Regions from separate parts of the Homo sapiens genome. Here regions 1 and 2 are each linked to region 3. Evidence: promoter capture Hi-C in 16 types of primary human blood cells and fetal thymus (Javierre and others, 2016). All regions are on one chromosome and are shown on one strand. Each heading gives the region's core, a stretch centred on a gene start or on the middle of the fragment in contact. The rest is flanking DNA. Distances are from core to core; before and after follow the strand shown.

Region 1 (4,393 bases), core at 30-2,529, 610 kb before region 3:
GCGACAGAGCAAGACTCCGTTCCAAAACAAACAAAAAAAAGTAGAGAACCTTCCCCACTCATGGTCTGAGAGAGAGAGAGAGGTGAAAACTGAGGAAAGGTAGAGAGGTGGCAGCATGAGGAGGAGCCCTGCTGCTGGTTCTGGGATATCAGGGTTCATAGACAAGGATAAGAGAGAGGCCTCCAGGGGGGAGCTAAGGGATCCCCCCCAGTGACAGCCAACAAGGAAATGGGGACTTCAGTCCCACAACCTTGTCGAACTGAATTCTGCCAACTGACAAGAAAATGCATTCTCCCCTAGAATCTCCAGAAAAGAATGCATTCTTGTGTCCAAGTGAGGCTCATGTCTGACCTGCAGAACTGTATAATGATAAATTATGTTGTTTGAAACCGCTACATTTGCGGTAATTTGTTACAGCAGCAATAGAAAACGAATCCCCTGCCCAGAATGACTTCCTCCTTTCCTGTCGGACGAAGGCTCAGGCCTTCTGCTGAAAGCTCGCTCCCCTAAGTAGTCACACCCAATGCCGAATACTCCCCAGAAGCAGCTGCTATTTTCTGAGGACAATGAGTTGCTTGTAAGCCTGAGAACAGGACGAAAACCCACTTTGCAAGCAGCCCTGCGTGTGACGGGCATGCCCTCGGAGGGCAGGTTGGTTTTGCTATCTGCTTTCTGTCCTGCCTTTTTCCCCCCATGGGTCCTGTCTGGCTCTTTTGCTTTCTCACTTTGTGCAGAAAGCCATCTCAACTCTTCTCACAGGAGAATAGCTGTATGGACGTAGCAGGGGGAGTTACCACATGCCTACCTCCATGGTTTTCGAGAGGGGCCCCTGCCCAAATGTCTCAGTGGCCACCTTCATCAGACCATGGAGCAGTCAGAGCGGGAAGGGATTCTAGAGTTGGTCCAGTCCAACCATCTCATCTTACATGTGAAGGAGGAAAGGAAGAAAGGGAGAAAAATAAGAAAGCTGAGGTCAACCCTCCTACAGGGATGGGCCTGGCCAACAGGATCCCAAGGGATGACATAACATTGAAATTAAGAAACCAAGGAAAGTTGAGAACTAAAGAAAACAGAACCCAGTCAGCCAAGAGGCATCCTTGAGGGCCAACCAAGCCGTCAAACCTGGATGCCCCCGACAAGTCAGAAAGTCGGGTGCCTCAAGAGCCAAGCAGCCAAGAAATGGGGTCTGGAACTGGCACTTTGGTCCGCCTCTGTGCACTCACCCAGAAAGGGTGGAAGGGACCCTGGGACCAAGTGCCAAGGTCACACAACGGATGAATAGAGCTGCTGGACTTCAAACTGAACCATGCCATTTTGCCAAAGCAGTCATCACCTTCCGTGAATCATAAATGTTTGTTCAAAGCCACAAATGTATATACTCTTTGTATGTATACAGATTTTTTCTAAAGGTTAACATCTAAACAGATCAATTAAGGTCAGCCTTAATTTGTCTGAGCTTTTTGGTTAAAGTTTCCTGAGTAATTGAGCGAATTCAAGTTTCTGGCTTTCTCCTTTTTCTTTCTCCATTTAAAACATGATCTCATGAAATTTTTGTCCCAAGAAAGGCAGGATTACATTTTCTTTTAACAGTTTGAGTTGGTGTAGTGTATTCTTGGTTATCAGAATACTCATATAGCTTTAGGATTTTGAATTGGTAAATATTCATGATGTGTGAAAAATCATGATACATACTGTACAATCTCAGTGCCATAAAATTGGATGTTGTGCCTACACACGCACAGGACCTAGAAGAGCATGTCAAACTATAAACTGCCTGTGATTGTGAATGACTTTGTTCTTTGCTTCTTGCGTTTTTCAGTTTCCTATAATGCACATCTTAACTTTTAAAAAATAAAGGTTATTTTAAAAGCCAAAAAGAAAAAAAAAGATCTCTAACCTGTTGGCTGGTTAAAATTTGAGAAAATTAGACAAATGCTTACTTTTCCCTTTTTGGCTGACAAACAAAAGCCCAGTGAGGTATCCTCATCTGTAGAGATTTATGTCCTTTGTGGGGGGCCTGCTTCTCCCTCAAGATAGAGTAAAAAAAAAATCAGTGGTGTCACTTGGGCTCAAAAGGACAGAAGACTTGACACTGGAGTTTGAGGGTCCCAGAGGGGCTCAGCCACATAGACCTTCCTGCCCCACCCTTCCTACCACAGCCCTTTTTAGGAGCTGCCCCTACCCCCACAAGACTGTCCTTTGTTGCTGAACTATTAATTACTTAAATAGTCATTGATCACCTACCCTTTGCTAGGCCCAGGAGTCCTGTGAGATGGGCTCTTCCCTTAGTCCTCATTCCCACTGGCTATTGACACCATCCCCCGCTACACCCCCAATTCTACTATCCCCTTCCAGCCCGACACAGGACTTGCCTCTCTGAGCCTCTGACCTCTGCTTTCTCCCAGCATCTATTTTGGTTCTTCCTCCTTGGCTCAGTAAGTACATGGACAATCCCAGACCAGCCTTAAAGGCAGCCACCCCCCATGTTGGCCTCAGCCTCAGGGGCAGGGGAGGATCCTGGCCTACAAATCATGCACTCAGAGCTACAGTCCAGTCTCTGCAAGGACTGGCAGCAGACGGCGCTCACCCTGGGAGACCGAGTCCAGACACCTGTTCCCTGGCACAGCAGAAGCCCTCCACCCAGGCCCTGGAATGACAGCCCTGACTGATCTCCTGAAAGTGAGCTCTCCTGAAAGTGAGCTCAGGCTGTCCATCTTCCCTGAAGTCCAGTCCATCCCTTGCAAAGCCAGTTTCCGCTATCCCATCATGATTAATGCTGAAGCTCTCTTTCCAACCTTTGAAATGCCTTTTCATGCCATGCATTTAGAGAAAGGGCTCTGCCATCTGCAGAGGACCTGTGCGGAAATGTGGGGAAATGACCGTGTGTTTATTTATGTCATCCATTGTTAGCTAAGAATATCCAGGTGTTCTAATAATGGAGGTACCAAGAAAGGAAACAGTGTTGGATGGTGGGAAGGACGCTGGGCTCGGGGCAGGAAAACAAGTCCCACAGCCCAAGCTGAGTGACCTTCAGCAAGTTTTTGTTCTTTAGCCTCAGTTTCTTCCTCTGCAGAAAAAAAAAAAAATGAGTCTACAGTACTTGCTATGCTGACCTCAAAGGGATATAACAAGAATCCAATGAAAGGATGTATGTGCATCCCAAATTTGCTCAGGCCCAGCACCAGAGGGACAAATGAATCCACATTAACAGATGTCACTGGGGCCTCCCACCTGCTGACACAGGCCTCCAGCACTTCCCCATAGAAGTTTCACTGAAATATTTTTCAGAGTGCCTAGGTGTGTCTCAGGAGGACCCCATGCAACCTTCTTTCTCGGTTCACTGCCTGAGAAGACTCTCCCTATAGCCACTATGTCCCAAGCAGGGGCTGAATCTCAGGGCTCTCAAAGCTGCAAAAGACAAGAGGTGTCAAAATGGTCTGTCCCCTCTCGGAATGCACCCCCACCTCCTGACAGAGGGACACCTGGAGGCTGGGTCATGCTCGGGAATGTCCACGCTGCAGGTTAGTTCAGGAGAACATCCCTACGCAGAGGGCAGGGCCCAGGCTGAGGGGTTTATTCAGGTTGCCACTGGATCCACCCAGCTGCCTGGAGACAGGGATTGTCCTCATTTGACCAAGTCACACAGCTAGTAGTAGTAGGTGGTGGAACCCTGTGGTGGACATTGGTCATTCTGGCTGCTTAGCATCTAGGTATACTTATTCTATGCTTTCTTGCAGAAGTTGTGCAGTTTTCAATCTTATATTTAGGTCTATGGTCCAACCTGAGTTAATCTTTGTATATGATGTCAGGTTAGCATCAAGGTTCTTTTTCTTTGTATTGGATGTCCACTTGTGGATATACAGTACTTCTTATTTGGGAGGAACATCAGGGTAAGTGTTCCATTTGCCCGCTACAGAAGATTCCATTGCCCAGTACAGAAACCAAGCTGAAGGGGAAGCTTTCCGCTCTCTAGTTGCTTAAAGGTTTCACCCTTTAGGCAGACAAGCCAAAGCACATGGTCATTTAGGGATTAGATGAGGTGGCTGTGAACAGCAGTGACAAGTGCCCCTCCCAAGTCGGTGGCTCTCAAGGTGGCCTCTGGACTGTGCCTGTCCTCCTCTACGTCTTGCCCCCGCCAAGGCCTCCCAGCGGCCCCATGATGCCATGCGCTTCCCACTGCTCCTCACGTAAATTCCTTCTCTGCTAAAGTTAACCAGAAACAGTTTGTGTTTGCAACCAAATTTGCAGCTGCTACAAGGCAGAATTCAAACTCTGACAATGTCTTGCTAAAAAACCCATGTGCTTTCTAAAATACCGTTCTTGGTGCACTGTTAAAGCTTATGTACATATAAGACATAATTATTATTACAATGCATTAAATTGGATGATATCC
Region 2 (4,364 bases), core at 902-3,401, 640 kb before region 3:
TCCTTATGGCCATCAAATATGCAATCCATATTCAAATTCCCCCGATTGTTCCAAAGATGTCTATTTTACAGTTGCTTTGTTCAAATCAAGATTTAAACAAGGTTCACACATTGCATTTGGTAGATATGTCTCCTGAGCGTCTTTTAATCTTAAGCAGTCCTCCCCACTAGACAATCACACGCAGACACACACACACACACACACACACACACACATACACACACACACAGTCGCACTGGCACACCCTGCTCATGCCCACTTCTCACATCACTCTTTGTAAAAACTATCCTGTCAGTTTTGGTCCACAGCCCTTCTCTCACAGGGCACACACCCTCTCCTCCCTTCTCTGGACCCCTAGAGACTCCAAGTCACTGAGCCACAGCTTGGTATTGACTCTTATTGTTTTCTACATTTCTTTGTTTTGTTTTCCTCATACTAGGTAATGCCCCACAGAGGCAAGAACTAAGTCTCATAATGACCTTAACATCAAAGAAAACTTAAAGGTTACCTATTCTGAGACTTGATTTTTCTTTTTTATTGTTTTACAATTTGCATAAATAATATGTCATCACTCATCTTATGGATAAAAAAACTGAGGCCCAGGGAAGCTAAGTAATTTGTCTAAGAATGCACAGCAAGTTGGCATCAGAACAGGCATCCACTTTGGGTGGATTTTCCACTGTACCATGCGCGTCTCTTTCCATTTTTCTGTGGCACCCACCACTGTGTTATGACATGCAGACAAGGGTCCTCACTAAGTGCCTGTGGCCTGACAGATTGTGGCTCTGAGGTCAGTGCAGTCGTGGCCATTTAGAGATGGTTACTGAAAGTTAATAATTGGTGGTTCCTGCCTAAAAATCCCACCACATACTACAATCCCTTTGAATTTTCAAGAAATATTTGGTCCATTAGGGATATCAGAAGCCTTTGGTGAGCCAGACATGGTGGCTCATGCCTGTAATCCCAACACTTTGGGAGGCCAAGAGGGAAGGATCACTTGAGCCCAGGAGTCCAAGACCAGCCTGGGCAACATAGTGAGATCCTATATCTACAAAAAATAAAATGAAATAAAAATATTAGGCTGGGCACAGTGGCTTACACCTGTAATCCTAGCTCTTTGGGAGGCCAAGATGGGCGGATCACGAGGTCAGGAGATTGAGACCATCCTGGCTGGCTAACATGGTGAAACCCCGTCTCTACTAAAATACAAAAAAATTAGCCGGGTGTAGTGGTGGGCGCCTGTAGTCCCAGCTACTTGGGAGGCTGAGGCAGGAGAATGGCATGAACCCAGGAGGTGGAGCTTGCAGTGAACCGAGATCGCGCCACTGCGCTCCAGTCTGGGCGACTGAGCAAGACTCCATCTCAAATAAATAAACAAATAAATAAATAAAAAGGAGTTTTTGGTCATGGTTGATAGAGTCATCCAGCTAATCTTAGGGAAAGAAGACCCAAAAGAAAGATGTCAAAATGTACGCACTTGTAAACCCATAGAGATGGAGAGCAGATTGGTGGCCGCCGGGGACTGGGGAAAGGGGAAATGGGGAGTAACTGGTTAATGGGTGCAGAGTTTTCTTTGGGGGTGATTAAAATGTTTTGGAACTAGATAGAAGTGGTGGTTGCACAACATTGTGGAGATACTAAATGCCACTGAATTTTGAGTTTAAGGTGATTAATTTTATTTGATGTGGATTTCACCCCAATAAAAATAAACTGGTTAGAATGTCCCAACTCAGCTCTGCTAGACCCAACCACACCCCAGCCTTGCCATCCCCTCAGACTGTGTAAGCAGAAGATGAGATTCCAGGGGGAAATTCCCCGGAGTTTATAGGAGCAGTGTATTGGGCAGTATTTTGGCTTTCCCCTCCTCAGTCAAGGGAGGCACTGCAAGAGAATTCCAGATCATGGATGCCCGTAAGAAGCACATTTGAGCATCCACGGGGCAGGATGGAGGAGTCTGCAGTGGAGCAGCTCACATGCCCAAGCCCTACCCGCGAGTTTCGTGGGGCAGCAGGTTTCCTGGCCTGTCTACCGGCATTGCCCCCAGGAGCCCACCCCAGACAGAGGGACTCCAGCTGTCAGAGGGAGAGGCTTGAGGGAGGGACCCAAAGTCATCCCCCTTGGGAGATGGCACTTGGACACCTGCCATCTTTTTTTTTTTTTTCTTTTTGAGACAGAGTCTTGCTGTGTCACCCAGGCTGGAGTGCAGTGGCACGATCTCGGCTCACTGCAAGCTCCACCTCCCGGGTTCACGCCTTTCTCCTGCCTCAGCCTCCTGAGTAGCTGGGACTACAGGCGCCCCCACCACCCCCAGCTATTTTTTTTTGTATTTTTAGTAGAGACGGTGTTTCACTGTATTAGCCAGGATGGTCTCGATCTCCTGACCTCATGATCTGCCCACTTCCGCCTCCCAAAGTGCTGGGGTTACAGGCGTGAGCCACCACGCCCGGCCCAACACCTGCCATCTTGAGAACAGCAGTAGAGAACCCACAAAACCTGCAAAGAAGAGGCTACGATCAAATGCCCAGTGAAGCGAAAAGATTATCTTCCCCATTGCACTCCCTCCTCTTCCCCAAGTCCCCAAGCACAGGAAGAGAGAGGCACCAAAAGAGGGAGGAGAGGGATGAAGACCGACCACCCCACCCTCACGATAGGTGCCTGGCTCGAGGCAGGCTGGTCTGAGGGAAGCGCAGGCAGTGGATATGATATCGGATTCAAGATTTGAGGCTTTGAAAAGAAAGTGGACTGGACCATAGGGGTTTTTTAATACCTAAAAACAACCAAAAAGCTATGGAATTATGAAAAGGAGATTTGGTATAAATCTCTAAAAAGATCTGGAGAAAAAATAGAATCATTTCATGTTTGTGCCCCACGGAGTTCAAACAGTTAAGTAAGTTGTTTAATCTCTATTTTCTCATCTGTAAAATAAGGATAATAATGCCTTCTTGCTGGGTATTGGGAATTTCAGTGCGGTAATATTCACAAAGCCCCTGGCACGTAGGCAGTCAATAAAACGAGGAAGAGAACTGCAGCCTTCAGAAAGCAGAAAACGCTTCAGGGCAGAAACACGCAAGTCCTGGGGGCTGACACTCCCAAACAAAGGCTCAGTTTTTCACATCGCCTGGGGCTTGAAATACTGATAGGCTTCTCCCTTCTGAGGCTGTCTTCCTTCCCTAACTAAAAGCCACCTTTGTCATTGCCCAAGAAGACCAAGTATGACCCAAGCCGCACTGAACACAGCAAGACCTGGGACACCCAAGGAAGCTCGACAAGGCGCTGGGGAAAAGCAAACTGAGGACTCTTCGTAGTTACCTGATGACTCCATGGAACAAAGGAGTCCAGGCCTTTCCAGAAGTCACCAGAACAGGCTCCCTGAGATGACAGTCCTGGGGTGGGAAAGGAGCAAGTTACGCCAGATGACCTGGAACACAAATACCCTGTTAGCCTGGCACCCACTGGCAGCTGTCACTGGACACCTGATGGGAGAGTTTATCCCAAAAGTTATGGGCTGGCAGCTCCGGCAGCAGAATTTCCACGTGCATGGTCCTGAGGACAGAGACAGGTCCAGAGCCTGGGGGTTGAGAACAAGAAAAAGGTGGAGCAGCCACGCTCCAGGGCAGCAAAGAGACCTGGATTTGTCTGAGGCGTTGGCGTTAAGGCACCCCTTGATGCGGCTTCCTAGATATGTGGTATGGCCTGGGGCTGGTCTTTGGGCCCGTTTCTTTATCTATAAAAATGGAGATAGCACCTCACTTTGATAGGTGGATTGTTGCTGTCAATTCTGTACTCTCTCCTGCCGCGTGGCTCTGCGGTGCCCAACAGCAGCAGAGTATATTTCACCCCCATGGACACTGAGGCTTGGTGATTGTGATGGGTTGCCTTGTGTCCCCTCTAATTCCTATGTTGAAGCCTGAACCCCCAGTATCTCAAAATGGGGCCGTATTTGGAGGTAAGGCCTTTAAGGATGATTAAGTTAAAATGAGGTCATTTGAGTGGACGCTAATCCAGTGTGACTGGTGTCCTTATAAGAGGAAATTTGGATACACAGAGACACCAGGGATGCATGGGCTCAGAGAAAAGGCCACATGAAGGCACGGCAAGAAGGGGGCATCCACAAGCCAAGAAGAGGGGCCTCAGGAGAAACCAGCCCTGCCAACACCTTGACCTTCGACTTCCAACCTCCACAGCTGTGAGAAAGAAATGTCTATCGCTTAAGCCACCCAGTCCATGGTACTTCGTTAGGGCAGCCTGACACTGAAAGTTGGTCTGCTTTTTATTACCAGCATGCATGCACCAGCAATTCTAAACAATGCCAGTGACAAAATGTTCCTTCCTGCAGCCTGGACTGCTCCCACCACTCCCATCCT
Region 3 (4,531 bases), core at 856-3,355:
GGCGATAGGAAAGGTGAGGACTCTATCCAAGGTCACTCCTGCAAAGCTGGCAGTGGCTGAGCCCGAGTGGAACCCGGGTCTGAGTGAAGCCAAAGTTTGTCTGCTGGCGAAAGTGGGAATTCCCTGGGGGTGGGGGTGGGGGTGGGGTACTGTAGACCCTGCCAGCCCCTCAAGCCCTGAGGCTCAGTGGCCTCCGGGCCGCGCGCCTGGGATCCCGCACAATCGGGGCGTTCCTCCTGGCCCAGCAGACGCAGCCGCTGGCCAGGCCTCCAGTGGCTACTGCCTTCCCGCCCTCCAGCTCGCAGGGTCCACGCCTCGGCCAGTGCGACGGCGGCCCGGGGAGCTGGGTGAGGGCACTGCAGCCCCAGAGCGGCAGCCGCCGGCGGAGCCTGCCTCTGGCATCCCAGGCCGCGCCGCACCCCGCTCGCCTCGCCAGGCTCGGCCGCGAGGGAGCGCCCCGGGAGGGCCGGGGGCGGCCACGGCGGCGGGAGTCGCCTCTGCTGGTTGGGGAGGGCGGCAGCTGGGACAGAGGCAGGGCCTGCGCGGCGGCGGGGAGGCGGGAGTGGGCCGGGAGGAGCGCCTGGGTCCAGCGCCTGGAACCCGTCGGTGCCGCCGGCCGCCCAGCTGGGCAAGGGTCCGGGGCGCCCACGTGGTGGGAAAGTTTCGAGGTAGCAAAAGTAGCCCGGCATTGCGGGGGGTGGGAGGGGAGAGGAGGGGAGGGGAGAGGGCCGGCTCGCCCCTCCTTCTCGGGAAGGCAGAAAGGAAAAAAGCGGTGGGAAGCAGGGGTGAGCGCGGGGAGCGGGCAGCCCCAACCTGAACAGATTCCGCTTTCTCCTCCTCCCCCCACCCCGGGAAGCTCGAGCGGGGAGGTACGGACCGTCTCCTCTCGCACGGGCAGGACGACACCCTCCCTCCCCCCCTTTTTTCTGCCAACGTCTATCTCAACGCGCGCGCACATACGGAGATTGTGCGGCTTTTTTCCCCCTTGGGAGAAAAAACGGGGAGAGTAAAAGAAGAGAGACCAAAGAGAAGAACTCCTCCTCGGCGAGCTCCGCACTCCGTGCCGCGGCCCGGCGCGGGGACGCCGCCGCCGCCCGCCCGCTCTCTCCCGGCCCTGCGGCGGGTGCCAGTACGAGCGCGAGCGAGGGCACTGCACCCGGGGACGCTGCGAGACTTTTCGGCGCTCGAGCCGACCTCGCCGCCGCCGCGGCAGGCAGAAGAGACAGGAGCGAGAAGGGCCCTGCCTCCCCCTCGCCTTCCTCGCCCGGCGCCCCGCGCCCGGCCGGGCCGCGCAGGCAGGCGGAGGGAAGGAGGGAGGCTGCGAGGAGGCGGGCGGAGCAGAGGCCCCGGCGAAGCGCGCTGCGGCCGCCCGCCCGTGGATGCGGCGCCCAGGGATCCTGGAGACAACTTTGCCGTGTGACGCGCCGGGAGGACTGCAGGGCCCGCGGCCGAGGGCTCGGCGCCGCCTGTGAGCGGGCCCGCGCGGCCGGCTCTCCCGGGCACCAAGCTTGCTCCGCGCCACTGCCCGCCGGCCCGCGGCGAGGACGACCTGCCCGTCTCCGCCGCCGGCGGCCCTTCCTGGCGCGAGGCAGTGAGGGCGAGGCGCTCAGGTGCGAGCGCGGGGCCCCGCCGCAGCGCCCGCCGCAGCGCCGCGCCAAGCCGCGCCCGGCTCCGCTCCGGGGGGCTCCAGCGCCTTCGCTTCCGTCTCAGCCAAGTTGCGTGGACCCGCTCTTTCGCCACCTTCCCCAGCCGCCGGCCGAACCGCCGCTCCCACTGACGCTGCTTTCGCTTCACCCGAACCGGGGCTGCGGGGCCCCCGACGCGGAAAGGATGGGGAGAAGGCTGCAGATGCCGAGGCGCCCCGAGACGCCCGTGCGGCAGTGACCCGCGACCTCCGCCCCGCCCGGCGCGCCCCTCGGGCCCCCGGGGCCCTCGGCGCCCCTTCCCTGCCGCGCGGGAACCCCCGAGGCCCGGCCGGCCCCCTCCCCCTGCGAGCCGGCGGCAGCCCTCCCGGCGGGCGGGCGGGCGGAGGCCCGGGCGGGCGCGGGCGCGGGCGGGGGCGGGGCGGGGCGGCGCGCCCGGAGCCCGGAGCCCGGCCCTGCGCTCGGCTCGACTCGGCTCGCCTCGCGGCGGGCGCCCTCGTCGCCAGCGGCGCACCATGGACGGGCTGCCCGGTCGGGCGCTGGGGGCCGCCTGCCTTCTGCTGCTGGCGGCCGGCTGGCTGGGGCCTGAGGCCTGGGGCTCACCCACGCCCCCGCCGACGCCTGCCGCGCCGCCGCCACCCCCGCCACCCGGATCCCCGGGTGGCTCGCAGGACACCTGTACGTCGTGCGGCGGCTTCCGGCGGCCAGAGGAGCTCGGCCGAGTGGACGGCGACTTCCTGGAGGCGGTGAAGCGGCACATCTTGAGCCGCCTGCAGATGCGGGGCCGGCCCAACATCACGCACGCCGTGCCTAAGGCCGCCATGGTCACGGCCCTGCGCAAGCTGCACGCGGGCAAGGTGCGCGAGGACGGCCGCGTGGAGATCCCGCACCTCGACGGCCACGCCAGCCCGGGCGCCGACGGCCAGGAGCGCGTTTCCGAAATCATCAGCTTCGCCGAGACAGGTGGGTCCGGCCCTCCGGCTGTCTGCCGCGGTCCCCGCTCGCTCCCGCTCTCCCTCTCCTTGCTAGCTCCGGCTGCCACCGCCGCCACCGCAGCCCGCGCGCCCTGGGGCAGCCTGGACTCCCGGCAGAGCTCCTTCGGCCGTGGCCCTGCGCGCTCCGCCCGGGTTGCAGTCCTCTTCCCCCAGGCCGCAGACCCTTGCCTGCTGCCTCAACCCCCCGCCGCCGATCGCCTGGCCCTCCACCCCTGCTCTCCGGAATCGGGCCCCAGCGCCTCTGGGCGCGCGTCCCCCTCCCGGCAGATGCGCGCGGCCCTGGCTCTGCGGGCACTTGCTTGGTGATTGCTTAATGTTTTTGTTTCCCACGATCGGAGTGTAGGCTTAGCAGTGTGGATGGAGATGTGTGTGCTTGTTGATATACGTGGGCCGGAGGAGAGAGAGAGTGTGTGTGTATCTGTGTGTGTGTCTGTGTGTGTGTGTGCCTGCGTGAGAGGCCCCTGGGGCCGCTTCCATCACCGGCGGCGTGGGCTTGCCAGGATTGCTGAAGCCTCGCTGGGGAGAGCTAGGCAACCTCTCTTCCGATTGTGTGGGCACCGGAATCGGGCGGAAGGCAGGCTTCTCAACAGGTCCATCATTTACACAGAGAAAGCCGCGGTTCGGGGACAGCCCCGTGCCTCTCGGCTTGCCTGGCAGCTGCAGCAGACCCCTCGCCCGAGAGGCAGAGTCGTAGTTAACAAAGGGTATGGCTCCTTTCTGGAATCCGCCCCCCCCCCCGGCCCCAGATTGCAAATCTCTAACACTGTCTAAATATAAAAATCAGGGAGAGAAAAATCTTTCGGAACTTTAAAAGAAGGAGAAAAATGTGCCCGCGCCAAAATGCTGCAAGTGCTTTCGACTCCGCTGTCCTTTTCAGGACTTGAATGAGCCAGGCTGGCTTTTGTGCCTGGAGCTCGGCCCCATTTGTGCCGAGGGGACTGCGGAGAAGGTCGCAGAGGGGGAAGCCCCGGTGCAGTTAGGGCGGGGGCAAGCGGGGAGCCTCGGTGGGGGGAGCGGTTGTGCCCCTGGCTGCAAATGCCCCCCACCCCACCAGGCAGCAGGCAGCCCGGGGATGAAAAGGGATGAAAAGTTTTGCATGGCCGGGTGTGGAGAAAAGCAGAGACAATCGGGGCTGGTTTGTGCTTAGAAAGAAATGCATTGCCGTTTTAGCTGTCCACTAAAGTGAGTCAGGGAAAGCTCGCCATGCAATTAGAGGGCTCGGATTAAAAGGTGCTTTGGGGCCCAGAGTTAGAAATGTGATTCTGGAAGGTCGAGGAGGCCTTTTGGTCCCGGTGGCACAAAATGACAGCGGGGGCTGTTATATTTCTGGTCCGTTTCACGGAGCCAGCTCTTTGACTTATAAATAACAGATTCAGGTCACAGGCAGCTCGTCCAAGACCAGCTTTTAAGGCTGCAGTTTCCCCCATTTCAAAGTCAGATGTCAGTGTTATTAGAGGAGCCAGGCGAGGCCTGAGGTAGGGGCTTGGGAGGGGCATGGTGGGAGGTTTGATAAAACCAGCCCTGACCACAGAGTTTCATTATTTGTTCTTCCTGAAAAAAAAAAAAAAAAAAAAAAGGAAAGAAAAACGTAGATTGTCAGAGGCAAGGGTCACCGGAATGTAGGATGAGAGGGGAGTCATCTCTTGATTGGCACAGCCTCCTTCTTGTTGAGCTGAATTATTGAGAAAATTAACTAGCCAGCTCCCCTACTCCTTGGGGATTTTGAACGTGCCATTAACAGGGAGCCAGAGTCTTGTCAAAGGATTGGACCTCAAGTTTTAAGGCTGAATGTCCTGTCCCTTGAAACTATTCTATAAGGGCTAGGCTCTGCAGCCTGCAAAGCACACGTTCCTATGTCAGAAACCTGAGCAGAGCCTGCTTGTTTGCAGTGGA

What was found. The method cuts DNA at HindIII sites, captures the fragments that hold promoters and counts their contacts. A CHiCAGO score of 5 or more calls a contact.
Region 1: a contact is called between a fragment that was not itself captured here and the fragment with the promoter of INHBB in region 3, in 1 of 17 cell types (neutrophils). The highest score is 8.7, in neutrophils.
Region 2: a contact is called between a fragment that was not itself captured here and the fragment with the promoter of INHBB in region 3, in 1 of 17 cell types (neutrophils). The highest score is 6.0, in neutrophils.

Annotation. Positions count from the first base shown.
Region 1 is chr2:119,731,685-119,736,077 of GRCh38, forward strand. All of the region lies in intron 1 of LOC101927764 (a long non-coding RNA gene), which reads right to left. Among named protein-coding and RNA genes, the nearest start is that of PTPN4, 26 kb to the right of the region's middle. The HindIII fragment of the contact is 5,353 bases long and covers 1-3,956 here.
Region 2 is chr2:119,708,461-119,712,824 of GRCh38, forward strand. It overlaps a transcript of TMEM177 not described here. Among named protein-coding and RNA genes, the nearest start is that of TMEM177, 31 kb to the left of the region's middle. The HindIII fragment of the contact is 5,929 bases long and covers 1-4,364 here.
Region 3 is chr2:120,344,031-120,348,561 of GRCh38, forward strand. INHBB (inhibin subunit beta B) reads left to right here and starts at 2,106. Exons shown (of 2, transcript NM_002193.4): 1 at 2,106-2,606. The coding sequence starts at 2,159. It overlaps LOC105373989 (putative cuticle collagen 91), which reads left to right. Exons shown (of 3, transcript XM_047446882.1): 3 at 857-1,963. The coding sequence ends at 1,884. The HindIII fragment of the contact is 14,502 bases long and covers 1,506-4,531 here.